Linked DNA regions of Homo sapiens: all the other regions are linked to region 1. Evidence: promoter capture Hi-C in 16 types of primary human blood cells and fetal thymus (Javierre and others, 2016). All regions are on one chromosome and are shown on one strand. Each heading gives the region's core, a stretch centred on a gene start or on the middle of the fragment in contact. The rest is flanking DNA. Distances are from core to core; before and after follow the strand shown. Region 1 holds the start of GABARAPL2 (GABA type A receptor associated protein like 2). Region 2 overlaps CFDP1 (craniofacial development protein 1). Region 3 has its middle 31 kb from the start of CPHXL. Region 4 overlaps CFDP1 (craniofacial development protein 1).

Region 1 (2,822 bases), core at 211-2,710:
CAGTCTTAAAATAACAAAAATACTTATAGAATGAAGCTAGATTCCACAGCATCGATCAGGAATTTCCAGTGTAGGAAATGATGAACTACCACATTCAAACATACAGGCTTTACAGGTGCATCAGAATCACAAGCACGTGGCAGGGTTCATGTGCCCAATTAAGTGAATATTCCTGCTACATGTTCAGCAGCTTATAAACAGATGGTGACCCAGACCAGACTGCCTTGATGAGTCTGCTTGGAAAAAAGGCATTACATCACTGATTGGAGAACCTCAAAGCATATGTCCGGGCAGGTGACACACACACAGCTCAGGCTGTGATTGCTAAACCACTCCCACAGCCAAATAAGGAAACCCATCTCATGACCAGCTCTCAGGGGAATTCTCCGAGTCTGACAGTCACCTCTAACTCCTCTGCCAGTTAAAATTAAGGGGTCTGTGATCAGTGATGTTACACTCCTCAAATGTGCATTTTTTTTTGAGGCGGAGTCTTGCTCTGTTGCCCAGGCTGGAGTGCAGTGGTGTGATCTCGGCTCACTGCCACCTCCACCTCCCTGGTTCAAACGATTCTCCTGCCTCAGCCTCCCGAGGAGCTGGGACTACAGGCGCCCACTACCATGCCTGGCTAATTTTTGTATTTTTAGTAGAGACGGGGTTTCACCATGTTGGCCAGGCTGGTCTTCAACTCCTGACCTCAGGTGATCCACCCGCGTCGGCCTCCCAAAGTGTTGGGATTACAGGCGTGAGCCACCGTACCCCGCCTCAAATGTGCATTTGTGATACCTTTTCGTAAATGTTTATTCAAATATTTATTCACGAATAAAGGAAGAAAACGGGATTTGTTTAAATTCAATTTCTAGGTCCAAGACAACCTACTACGGCTGTCCCTAATACGGACCTCCGGGTTGTCCTCAGTGCCGCTTCCAACAGTGTCCTCAAACACCCTCCCCTCCCATAATGAGCCCCCAACCTGTCACCACTCCGAGCAATACTCCCCAAACTGTCAACGCCCTAAACAGCTCCCTTGTTATCGCCAAGCTCTAGAAAGCCCTCCTTATGTCATTCTTACCCCTAAAGACCGTTCTTGTCACCAATTCCCCAGACTTCCCCTATGAACCGCTCTAAGAGCCCTCAGCTATCAGCCACACCCCCAAACAGCCCTCAGTAAGAGCCCTACACTATCAGCCAGACGTTTTCCGCCACCAACGCTCCCGAGACCCCACTCCTGTCACCAGTTCCCCGAACATTCCTGCGAGCAATGTCGCAGATACTGCTCACAGACGTCCCCATAACCAACTTCTTCGCCACCGCAGCCCAGGAGCCCCCAAAGGGGTCCTCCGCGGCCCCGCCCCTTTACGTGCGGCCCCGCCCCTTGGCGTGGCGCCCTGACAAATGGCGCCGGAAGCCCCGCCCCCGGCCGGTTGCTAGGCTCCGACAGCCGGAAGTCCCGCCTGCCGTGTAGTCGCCGCCGTCGCTGCCGCTGCCGCTGCCGCCGTCGTTGTTGTTGTGCTCGGTGCGCTGAGCTCCGCGGCTCCGCGAGCCGGTTCCGTCCCCTTCCCGCCGCCGCCATGAAGTGGATGTTCAAGGAGGACCACTCGCTGGGTAAGCACTTGGTCGTCGGCCCGGCTGCTGGGGGCTGGGGCGGCGGGTGGGCCCCCTCCCCCACTCGGGCGGCCCTGGGCCGAGTGGAGCGGGGCGGATGCCCTGCTGCGGGCTGGAGTCGCCCATGCCCTGGTGCCTCGGGCAGCGGCCCCCTGACCCCATGTCACCCTCCGCGGGCCTTGCTGGGAGCTAGTAGGGGACAGGACCGCGGCCCCGGGGACGCCGGAACCAGGGCCTGGGTTGTACGCAGGGCGCAGGAGGAGGAGGGCCGGGGGCCGGGAACCGACCGGTGGGCAGGCGCGGCCGTCAGCCCCGTTTGTTTCTCCCACAGAACACAGATGCGTGGAGTCCGCGAAGATTCGAGCGAAATATCCCGACAGGGTTCCGGTGAGTGGACTCTCCGCCCCCTCACCTCGCTGTCACCTCTGTCGTCTGGGACCCGTGATAGGCCCCAGGCCATTCAACAGTTGACAAGTTGAGGTTCCAGTCCCAGTTACAGTAGCTGACGGGCCAGACCGGGATGAGGCCGCCCAGGGCCGGGGCGTGAGGGGCTCGGGCTGGTGCTGTTCAGGGTGCCTCAGTGCTGAATCTCCCGATCTAGGCCAGCGAGCCGTCTGCAGCCTCGGGGCTCCCTGGCCAATTATGTAAGGAACGATGTTCTAGGACAGGGCAACAGGTCACTGCCACTTTTGGGAATGGTGGTGGAGGGAGACTGTCATTTTGGTCTTGGAAGTGGTACTTGAGTCTCAGGACGTTCATCTTTTACTTTGTCTCCATCTTTACCTAACTTCTAGCTCCGTTATCTCACCTTGACCCTGTCATCCTTGCCTGACCAAAATAATGTGAAAAGCCGCTGAAAACCCCTTCTGCCATATTTTCTTCTTAGTCAATAATAAATATAATGTTATATTTCTTCCATGGTTGGGGAGATAGTTTTGTAATCGTTATTAATTTTTAATGGACATTAAGGCCTGTTATTGTAGCTCTTTGCTTGTGAATAATTTGTCTGGGGAAAGGAGTAGGAGGGACGGATTTGAAACTTGTTCAGAGAGGAGCAACAGGCCAAATGAAGAACTTGGTTCTTGGCTGGCTAAAATTCCAGGCATTCCAATTAGTCCATCCATTCTTGTCTCCTGTGTTCCTTGGGAACACAGTAGTGTTTCCTGTAGTGTGAAGGTGGATCCATTCTGGGGTCCTGGAGTAACGGGCCATGGATGAAA
Region 2 (2,822 bases), core at 209-2,708, 190 kb before region 1:
CAAACCAGGTGGATCACCTGAGGTAAGGAGTTCAAGACAAGCCTGGCCAACATGACGAAATCCCATCTCTACTAAAAATACAAACATCAGCCAGGCGTGGTGGTGGGTGCCTATAGTCCCAGCTACTTGGGAGGCTGAGACATGAGAATCACTTGAACCCTGGAGGTGGAGGTTGCAATGAACCGAGATCGCGCCACTGCACTCCCGAGACTGTCTCAAAATAAAATAAAATAAAATAAATTATAGAATATTCAAAGTAGAACACTATACTAGCCATTAACAAGAATCAGATAAATGTATAGGCAATAAGATGAAATATGTTAGTATATGTATTTTTGTATTTTCAAGCAAAAAATACAAACTTCAGGAAAATAGGCTTAGATTACTCCATTTATATAAATAAAAAACACTTATATGTGAACAGAAAAGTATCTCATACAGATACACATTCATATACATAGATTACTAAATGCTTAGGGAAAGGTCTAGGACAGAGCTGTCAAATAGAAATAAAATGGGCGGGGCATAGTGGCTCACACCTGTAGTCCCAGCACTTTGGGAGGCTGAGAAGGGAGGATCAGTTGATCCCCGGAGTTTGAGACCAGCCTGGGCAACATAGTGAGACCCCATCTCTTAAAAAAAAAACACACAGAAATAAAATGGGAACCACATACCTAGTTTAAAAACATATTTTAGCCCTATTAAATATAAAAAGAAACAACTGAAATTGTTTTTAATACATTTAACCCAATATGTCAGAAATGTTACTGTTTCAACAATGGAACTGAAATAAAAATTGACTGCTTATTTTTTCTTACTAATTCTTCAAAATTTAGTGTGTATTTATACCTATAGCACATCTCAATTCAGACTGGTGGCATTTCAAGTGTTCAACAGCCACATATAGCTAGTGACTACTCTACTGAACAGTGGAGACCTTACAAAAACCCCACCAAATTATTAACTTTCATTTTGTCTTCTATATCTCTGTGTTGCTTGAATTTTTAGAAGAACACGCATATATTGCTTCTATGTTTCTAAAAAAAAAACCTAAATGTGTCCATATATGAAAATTAATTCAAGGTACAAAAAAAACCTAAACATAAAAGCCAGGACCATTAAAAAAAGGCAAAATCTTCTCAACCTTATAGGCAGATTTCTTAGGACACAAAAAGCACTAACTGTAAAAGACGAACTGAATATCAAAATTAAAAACTCTGCTCATCTAAACACACCACCAAAAAAATGAATAAGCAAGACAAACACTAAGAAAAATTCTTAGCATTTACATCTGACAAACTATCTATATTCAGAATATAAGAAGAACTCCTATAAACCAATAACAGAATAAAACAACCCAATAAAAATGGGTAAGATTGGAAGAGTCACTTTACACATGAAAAGATGTCATTATTATTAGTTTTCAGAGCAATGCAAACTAAAATCAGAGGAGATACCATTTCACACTTACCCAAATAAAAAAGACTGACAAGGCTGGGCGCGGTGGCTCATGCCTGTAATCCCAGCACTTTGGGAGGCCGAGGCGGGTGGATCACCTCAGGTCAGGAGTTCAAGACCACTCTGACTAATATGATGAAACCCCATCTCCACAAAAAATACAAAAATTAGCCAGGTGTGGTGGCATCCACCTGTAGTCCCAGCTACTCCAAGGCTGAGACAGGAGAATCGTTTAAACCCCAGAGGTGGAGGTTGCAGTGAGCTGAGATCATGCCACTGTGCTCCAGCCTGGGCGACAGAGCGAGACTCCATCTCAAAAAAAAAAAAAAAGACTGACAACATCACATGTGAACAAGGATACGTATGGACCAAGTAGAACCCTCATACATCACTGGCAAAATATAAAATGGTACAACCATCTTGAGGAACTGTTTGGCAGTTTCTTATAACATTAAGACTGAGCGTTGTGGCTCATGCCTATAATCCTTGCAGTTTGGGAGGCTGCAGCAGGAGGACTGCTTGAGCCTAGGAGTTTGAGACCAGCCTGCAACATGGGGAGACCCCATCTCTACAAAAAAATTAAAAATTAGCCAGACATAGTGGTGTGCACCTGTAGTCCCAGCTACTCGAGAGGCTGAGGTGGGAAGATCTCTTGAGCCACAGAGTTCAAGGCTGCAGTGAGCTGTGATTATGCCATTGCATTCCAGCCTGAGTGACAGAGCAAGACCCTGTCTCAGAAAAACCAAATCAAAACCAAAACAAAAACATTAAGCACACATCTACTCCATGACCTAGCAATTCCATTCCTAGGTATTTAGGTACCCAAGATAAATAAAAACATATGTCTTCAAAAAGATTTGGAAATAACCCATACGTTTATCAGCAGGATAGATGGATAAACTGTGGTATATATGAACAATTTATAAAAAGCAATGAACCACTGATATACACAGCAACATGATAAGTCTCAAATACATGTTCTTTCACTGTAGGTAAAAGAATCCAGGCACAAAAATTTAAAAAATGTATGCTTTGATTTCCATGACGTTCTGGAAAAGCAAAACTAATCTATCATGATAAAAATCAGTAGTTGCCTGGGGCAAAGAGCATAGGGCAAAAGCAACTGGAAAGGGGCATGAGGGAACTTTCTGGAGTGACGGAATCATACTATACCTTATCTTGGATAGTGGCTATGAAGTAGTAGGCAGGACAGGATTCCAGAGGCAGGGCTTGGATACCAAACCAAATTGATGACTAGCTAAAACAGGTATGGGGCAGAAGCGGCTTTCTGTAAGACACACCCACCAGTGTGCTATGTCAGTTTACCATTGGTATGACAACACCTGAGAGTTACCGCCCCTTCC
Region 3 (2,822 bases), core at 187-2,686, 190 kb after region 1:
GAAAGAGGTTTAATTGACTTACAGTTCTGCATGTCTGGGTCTGGGAAGTTCTCAGGAAACTTACAATCATGGTGGAAGGGGAAGCAGGCACTTCTTACATGGTAGCAGGTGAGAGAGAGTATGTATGAGTGTAGGAAAAACTACCATTTATAAAACCATTGGATCTAGTGAGAATCTATTCACTATCACAAGAACAGCATGGGGAAAACTGCCCCTATAATCCAATCACTTACCTCCCTCAACACATGGGGATTACAATTTGAGATGAGATCTGGGTGGGGACACAGAGCCAAACCATATCAGAGGGGGCAACACAGGAAGGCTGGCAGCTTGGTGTCTGAGGTCTTTTCCAACCCCGAGTCCAGTTTTATAAATGGGATGGGGAGAGGAATCCTGTGTTTTGTGAGTTGTGGGCCTAAGGAATATTATCGATGACACCCAGGGAAGAGCTGATTGTTAAGCACTTGCAGGTCCTTTGTATTGTTAAGGACAATCCAAGTCAGTGAAATAATCTCAGCCTCTGAGGACCAGTAGCTTTTCCATTAACACAAAAGCACCAAAGGTCTTCCCTGCTCAACACTGTGGTGCAGGAGGCCAGTGGCTATCCTACCATGTCTTTTTCCTTAACACCTCTTTCCTCTTTTCCCACAAACTTGAGCTTCCCCTGCCTTCTATATAAACTGCATTAATGAGTGGCTGTCTTGTGCTACCCAGAGGGAGTAAGATAATCTCTCTGCCACACCAGCCCATATGGTGCAGAGGATGATGCAGAAAATACACAAGGAATAAACACAGAAATATGATGATTCAGAAAGGATGAGTGCTATGAGGTAATAAATCGGACCAAAGGAATAGAAAATGTGTTAGTTCGTTCTCATACTGCTATAAAGAACTGCTCAAGACTGAGTAATTTATAAAAGAAAGAGGTTTAATTGACTCTGAGTTCTGCATGGCTGGGGAGGCCTCAGGAAGCTTACAATCATGGTGGAAGGTGAACGGGAAGCAAGGCACCTTCTTCACAAGGTGGCAGGAGGGATAGTGAATACAGGAAGAACTACCACTTATAAAACCATCGGATCTCGTGAGAACTCACTTACTATCATGAGAACAGTATGGGGGAAACTGCACCCATGAATCAATGACCTCCACCTGGTCTCTCTCTTAACACATGGGGTTATGGGGATTACAAGGGGGATTCAAGATGAGATTTGGGTGGGATCACAGAGCCTAACCATATCAGAGAGGGATGAGGAAGCACCATCACTAAGCTACAGTGGTCAGGAAAGGGCACTTTAAGAAGACGTGATTAGAGTTGGTATCTAAATGAAGGAGGCAGCCACCACATATGTGGTGTAAAGGTATTCTCGGCAGAGGAAATGCCCAGTGCAAAATTCTGAGACTTAGTGAGCCTGCCATGCTAACTGGACAAAATCGTGGTCAGTGGAGTCACAGGAGGTGCTTGGGTAGGTATACACCTGCAAGGACCAGGGCATGGACAACCTCATGGGCCAGGAGAGCATAGATTTGAGTCTCAGTGTAAGTTGTAGGCACTGGAGGGCTTTGAGCAGCATGGCCCATGGTCTTATTTATGGTTTTTAAATGCTGACATTGGCCTCACAGTCGTAAAGGTGAGACAGTTCAGGGAGGAGATAGGGAAAGGGTTGATTACTTAGCCTTTGTGGTCCTTCCAACTCTCAGTCCAGGCTTGTGATGGGGCAGAGAGGACACAGAACAGGGAAGAGAATCAGGGATCCTCGAAAAGTGTTCACATAATTTTGTCTGGGGCTGGTCCTCACTGAAGAGTGTTGGCTTTGACCTGTAAACCCACTTGAGACACCCTTCAGAGTCAAGGTTAAGGTGGCTTCCCGGTGGACACCCCAAGGGAGTTTGGGGTGAGAAGGAAGCTTGTGCTCTCAGGGTTAAATATAATTTGCATTTACATCATGCACATTTTAAAACTGCAATCCTAAACATTGTAATCCTATCAGGTCTTCTTTCGAGATGTGTAATTATTAATACATTAAATTATGGCAATAAAACCAATAGAGAAACAAATAAAATTATTTAAAAAGTAAGTTGGAATAAAATAGTTGCTGTTTTCCTGAATTATTTTAGAGGCTTTGCTAAAAACAACATAAAACTGTAATTATGCTACTTACAAATAGAATAAAATGGAAGTAATTAATTTATTAGTGTTGTTATTGAAATAATCTACAGGCAGAGCACATTATGAAGCAGAATCCTGTCTTTTTTCATCTTATACATGATATAATCACTCACTGGCAATAAAACTAAAATAGAAAATATGAAAATTATTGTAGAGCAGAGGAAAAGGGCTCTTGTGGTTGTGGTTGTGTAGTAGCATGCTCAGTGGGAGGTGGGATCTATCCAGGGGTGACTCACTTTCGTTTTCAGGCTGAGTGGACAGTGCTTGGTGTCCAACATTTCTTGTGGCCAGAGGAGAATGGGGAGGATGTGTCCAGCCAGGGAAGCTCCCTGGTGAAAAGGATTCCTAGGCAATTGTGTCCTGGATTTCTGGAACAGGGGAAGAGCAGAGGTTTCTTTTCTTAGGACCTGTCCCTTTAAGACTCTCTAAACATCTGAGGTCTGACAAGGGGAGGAGGTGGAGGACCAGGGCCTGGACCAGTGGAACTGTGGTCTAGTGGTCATGTTGAATAGAAGGAAGGTCCTGAGCTGTGGCAGCCAGCACCAGGAGCATCAGGTCATGCTCTTTGTGGACCTTGTGAAGGATCTGTTGAGTCAGGGTGGAGTTGACCTGAGGGAGGCCTCTTTCTCCTGGGATCCTGACCTTGGGAGGAATG
Region 4 (2,822 bases), core at 105-2,604, 170 kb before region 1:
GGGCCCGGTGGCTCACGCCTGTAATCCTAGCACTTTGGGAAGCCAAGGAGGGCAGATCACGAGGTCAGGAGATCAAGACCATCCTGGCTAACACAGTGAAACCTCGTCTCTACTAAAAATACAAAAGATTAGACGGGCGTGTTGGCACCTGTAGTCCCAGCTACTCAGGAGGCTGAGGCAGAAGAATGACATGAACCCGGGAGGCGGAGCTTGCAGTGAGCCGAGATTGCGCCACTGCACTGCAGCCTGGGTGACAGAGCGAGACTCCACCTCAAAAAAAAAATGTGAAACAAAACTTTACTGCTCATAGCAATGACAGGTATGCTCCAGGAGGGAAGGAAGAGGGGACAATATCTGACTGAAGGGCCACAGAAGCCACTGTAGGAGACTATGCAGAACTCCCCACAGGAGTCAGGTGGGTAGTCAGGGCTATCCATGGTATGGGTCTATGTTCACTTCCCTGTGGCAACAGTCTTAAGCCTCTCTGATTTACTGTAATACTTTACTTCTCACATTTAGGTTAAGAAAAGAATTTTTACTTCTTCCAAAAAGAAAGAATTCTAGCCTTCAGCTAAAAATAACTCAAGTAATATGAAAAATATGAAGGGAGGAAAACCATTAAGTTCCTGACAATGTGTTAAGAAAACTATTTGTAAATCATCTTTGATCTTTTTATGTTCCTCTAAGATCACAGAGGATGGGAGTGAGTGTTCATCGCAAATCTTCATGAAAAGTTCTGCAGAAGGCTGATATTTTCATTTGAAAAGTATTATTTTTAAATGTAAAATTTACACGTTCAGCTTTGTGTTCAATACTATAAACTAGGACTTCTTTTAGGCTGGCAACAAATAAGAAAGCTACAACTAATTTTCTTCGCTTTTTTTTTTTTTTTTTTTTTTTAAGAGACAGGATCTCTCTGTCACCCAGGCTGGAGTGCAGTGGCACAATCACGGCTCACTGCAGCCTCAACCTTCTGGGCTCAAGGGATCCTCCTGCCTCAGCCTCCACAGTAGCTAGGACAGAGGTGCAAGCCACCATGCCCAGCTAATTTTTTTTTTTTTAAGAGACAGGGTCTTACTGTATTGCCCAGGCTGGTCACAAACTCCTGGGTTCAAGCAATCCTCCTGAGAAAGTTATGGCTAATTTTCCTTTGCATCTTCCATTCTGGTAAATATTGCAGCAAAGGCAAAGCAGCATCATAATTCTCTCTCTCAGGCAAGGAGTCTGATCTGCAGCGAAAGTAGGTATTTGCACTGAAAGCTTCTCCAACGTGCCAAGTACATCAGGGAGTGAGACTCAAATACTCACCCTGACCCGGCAGGGAGTGATGGCAGAGCTGAAGGAACATTAGCCTGTGGTTTTTCTTTCTCATTCTGCTTGAAGAAGGATTTGGCCTCTTTAGATGTAGCATCCACTTCCTTAGTTACCCTGTGCCAAGGAAAAAGACATCAAGCTTACAAGAAGAATAAAGAGAAAGAAACAAGCTAGAAAAGGGAATAAAGACAACTAGAAAAAGATCCACTCGGCTTCCAATAAATTCTGGACGCTCAGCATTATGATAAAAGTTTACTATAACTTTCAATAAAGACATTTGCCCAGCCGGGCGTGGTGACTCACGCCTGTACTCCCAGCACTTTGGGAGGCCGAGGCAGGCGGATCACAAGGTCAAGAGATCGAAACTATCCTGGCCAACATGGTGAAATCCCGTCTCTATTAAAAATATAAAAATTAGCTGGGCGTGGTGGCGGGCGCCTGTAGTCCCAGCTACTCGGGAGGCTGAGGCAGCAGAATCACTTGAACCCGGGAGGCAGAGGTTGCAGTGAGCCGAGATCACGCCATTGCACTCCAGCCTGGGCAACAGCACGAGACACCGTCTCAAAAAAATAAAAAAAATAAAAAAACATTTTCCCTCACTAAAATTAACAAATGAAACAACAATGTGTATAAATTTTATCACCCTATAACAACCCAAAGATGAAACAAAATCCCCTAAAACTGGCTAAATTAGCAATAATTTGGGAATGGACGAAAGCAACATGACTGAGAATTTTGTCTAATTTCAAATCTGAAACAATTATCTTCACTAAAACTGAGTCCTAAAGGTTCAAATAAAGGTGTTTATGGTACCTGAGAATTCAGATAAAGAGAGAAGGAGAAATGTTTAATCCCTGCCTAGGCTTTCCAGGTTAACGAAAACACCTGAGGAATGTTGTTTAAATGCAGTCCATCTCCCCTCCATGACTTCTCAGCATGAAACACACTGCAGCAGTCAATACTAAATCTCCATGCTGGTTTACTGATGTGAAGGCTGAAAAAGGCCCTCACACTGCACCCCACATGCAGATTAGCACTCAGCCTTGAAAGCTGAGATGGGGAGATGGAATACTGGGAATATAGGTTATAGAATTGGGAAATAATGCCTAGGTTGGCACTATTTCAAGGAGAAAAACAAGAGTTAAAAAAAAAAATTTGAGGAGACCAGGCACAGTGGCCCATGCCTGTAATCCCAGCACTTTGGGAGGCCAAGGCAGGCGGACCACGAAGTCATGAGTTTGAGACCAGCCTGGCCAACATGGTGAAACCCTGTCTCTACTAAAAATACAAAAAATTAGCCAGGCATAGTGGCAGGCGCCTGTAATCACAGCTACTAGGGAGGCTGAGGCAGGAGAATTGCCTGAACCCAGGAGGTGGAGGTTGCAGTGAGCTCAGACCACGCCACTGCACTTCAGCCTGGGCAACAGAGCGAGACTCTGTCTCAAAAATAAATAAATAAATTGAGAAGACTCTGCAGAAGGCTCCTGTTTTATATCCAAAACAACCCA

The links. Contacts are between HindIII fragments. The CHiCAGO score rates a contact against its expected background, and 5 or more counts as called.
Region 2: a contact is called between a fragment that was not itself captured here and the fragment with the promoter of GABARAPL2 in region 1, in 1 of 17 cell types (monocytes). The highest score is 5.7, in monocytes.
Region 3: a contact is called between a fragment that was not itself captured here and the fragment with the promoter of GABARAPL2 in region 1, in 4 of 17 cell types (naive B cells, total B cells, total CD8 T cells and 1 more). The highest score is 11.3, in naive B cells.
Region 4: a contact is called between a fragment that was not itself captured here and the fragment with the promoter of GABARAPL2 in region 1, in 1 of 17 cell types (naive B cells). The highest score is 5.1, in naive B cells.

The regions. Positions count from the first base shown.
Region 1 is chr16:75,564,919-75,567,740 of GRCh38, forward strand. GABARAPL2 (GABA type A receptor associated protein like 2) reads left to right here and starts at 1,461. Exons shown (of 4, transcript NM_007285.7): 1 at 1,461-1,602; 2 at 1,934-1,989. The coding sequence starts at 1,569. RefSeq lists a silencer at 1,524-1,933 and an enhancer at 1,923-2,676. The HindIII fragment of the contact is 5,212 bases long and covers 1-2,822 here.
Region 2 is chr16:75,374,018-75,376,839 of GRCh38, forward strand. The region is part of intron 5 of CFDP1 (craniofacial development protein 1); the gene reads right to left. Among named protein-coding and RNA genes, the nearest start is that of CFDP1, 58 kb to the right of the region's middle. RefSeq lists an enhancer at 2,590-2,822. The HindIII fragment of the contact is 4,084 bases long and covers 1-2,822 here.
Region 3 is chr16:75,755,997-75,758,818 of GRCh38, forward strand. No RefSeq gene overlaps it. Among named protein-coding and RNA genes, the nearest start is that of CPHXL, 31 kb to the left of the region's middle. RefSeq lists an enhancer at 2,268-2,317. The HindIII fragment of the contact is 932 bases long and covers 971-1,902 here.
Region 4 is chr16:75,393,782-75,396,603 of GRCh38, forward strand. It overlaps CFDP1 (craniofacial development protein 1), which reads right to left. Exons shown (of 7, transcript NM_006324.3): 5 at 1,309-1,428. Among named protein-coding and RNA genes, the nearest start is that of CFDP1, 38 kb to the right of the region's middle. The HindIII fragment of the contact is 193 bases long and covers 1,259-1,451 here.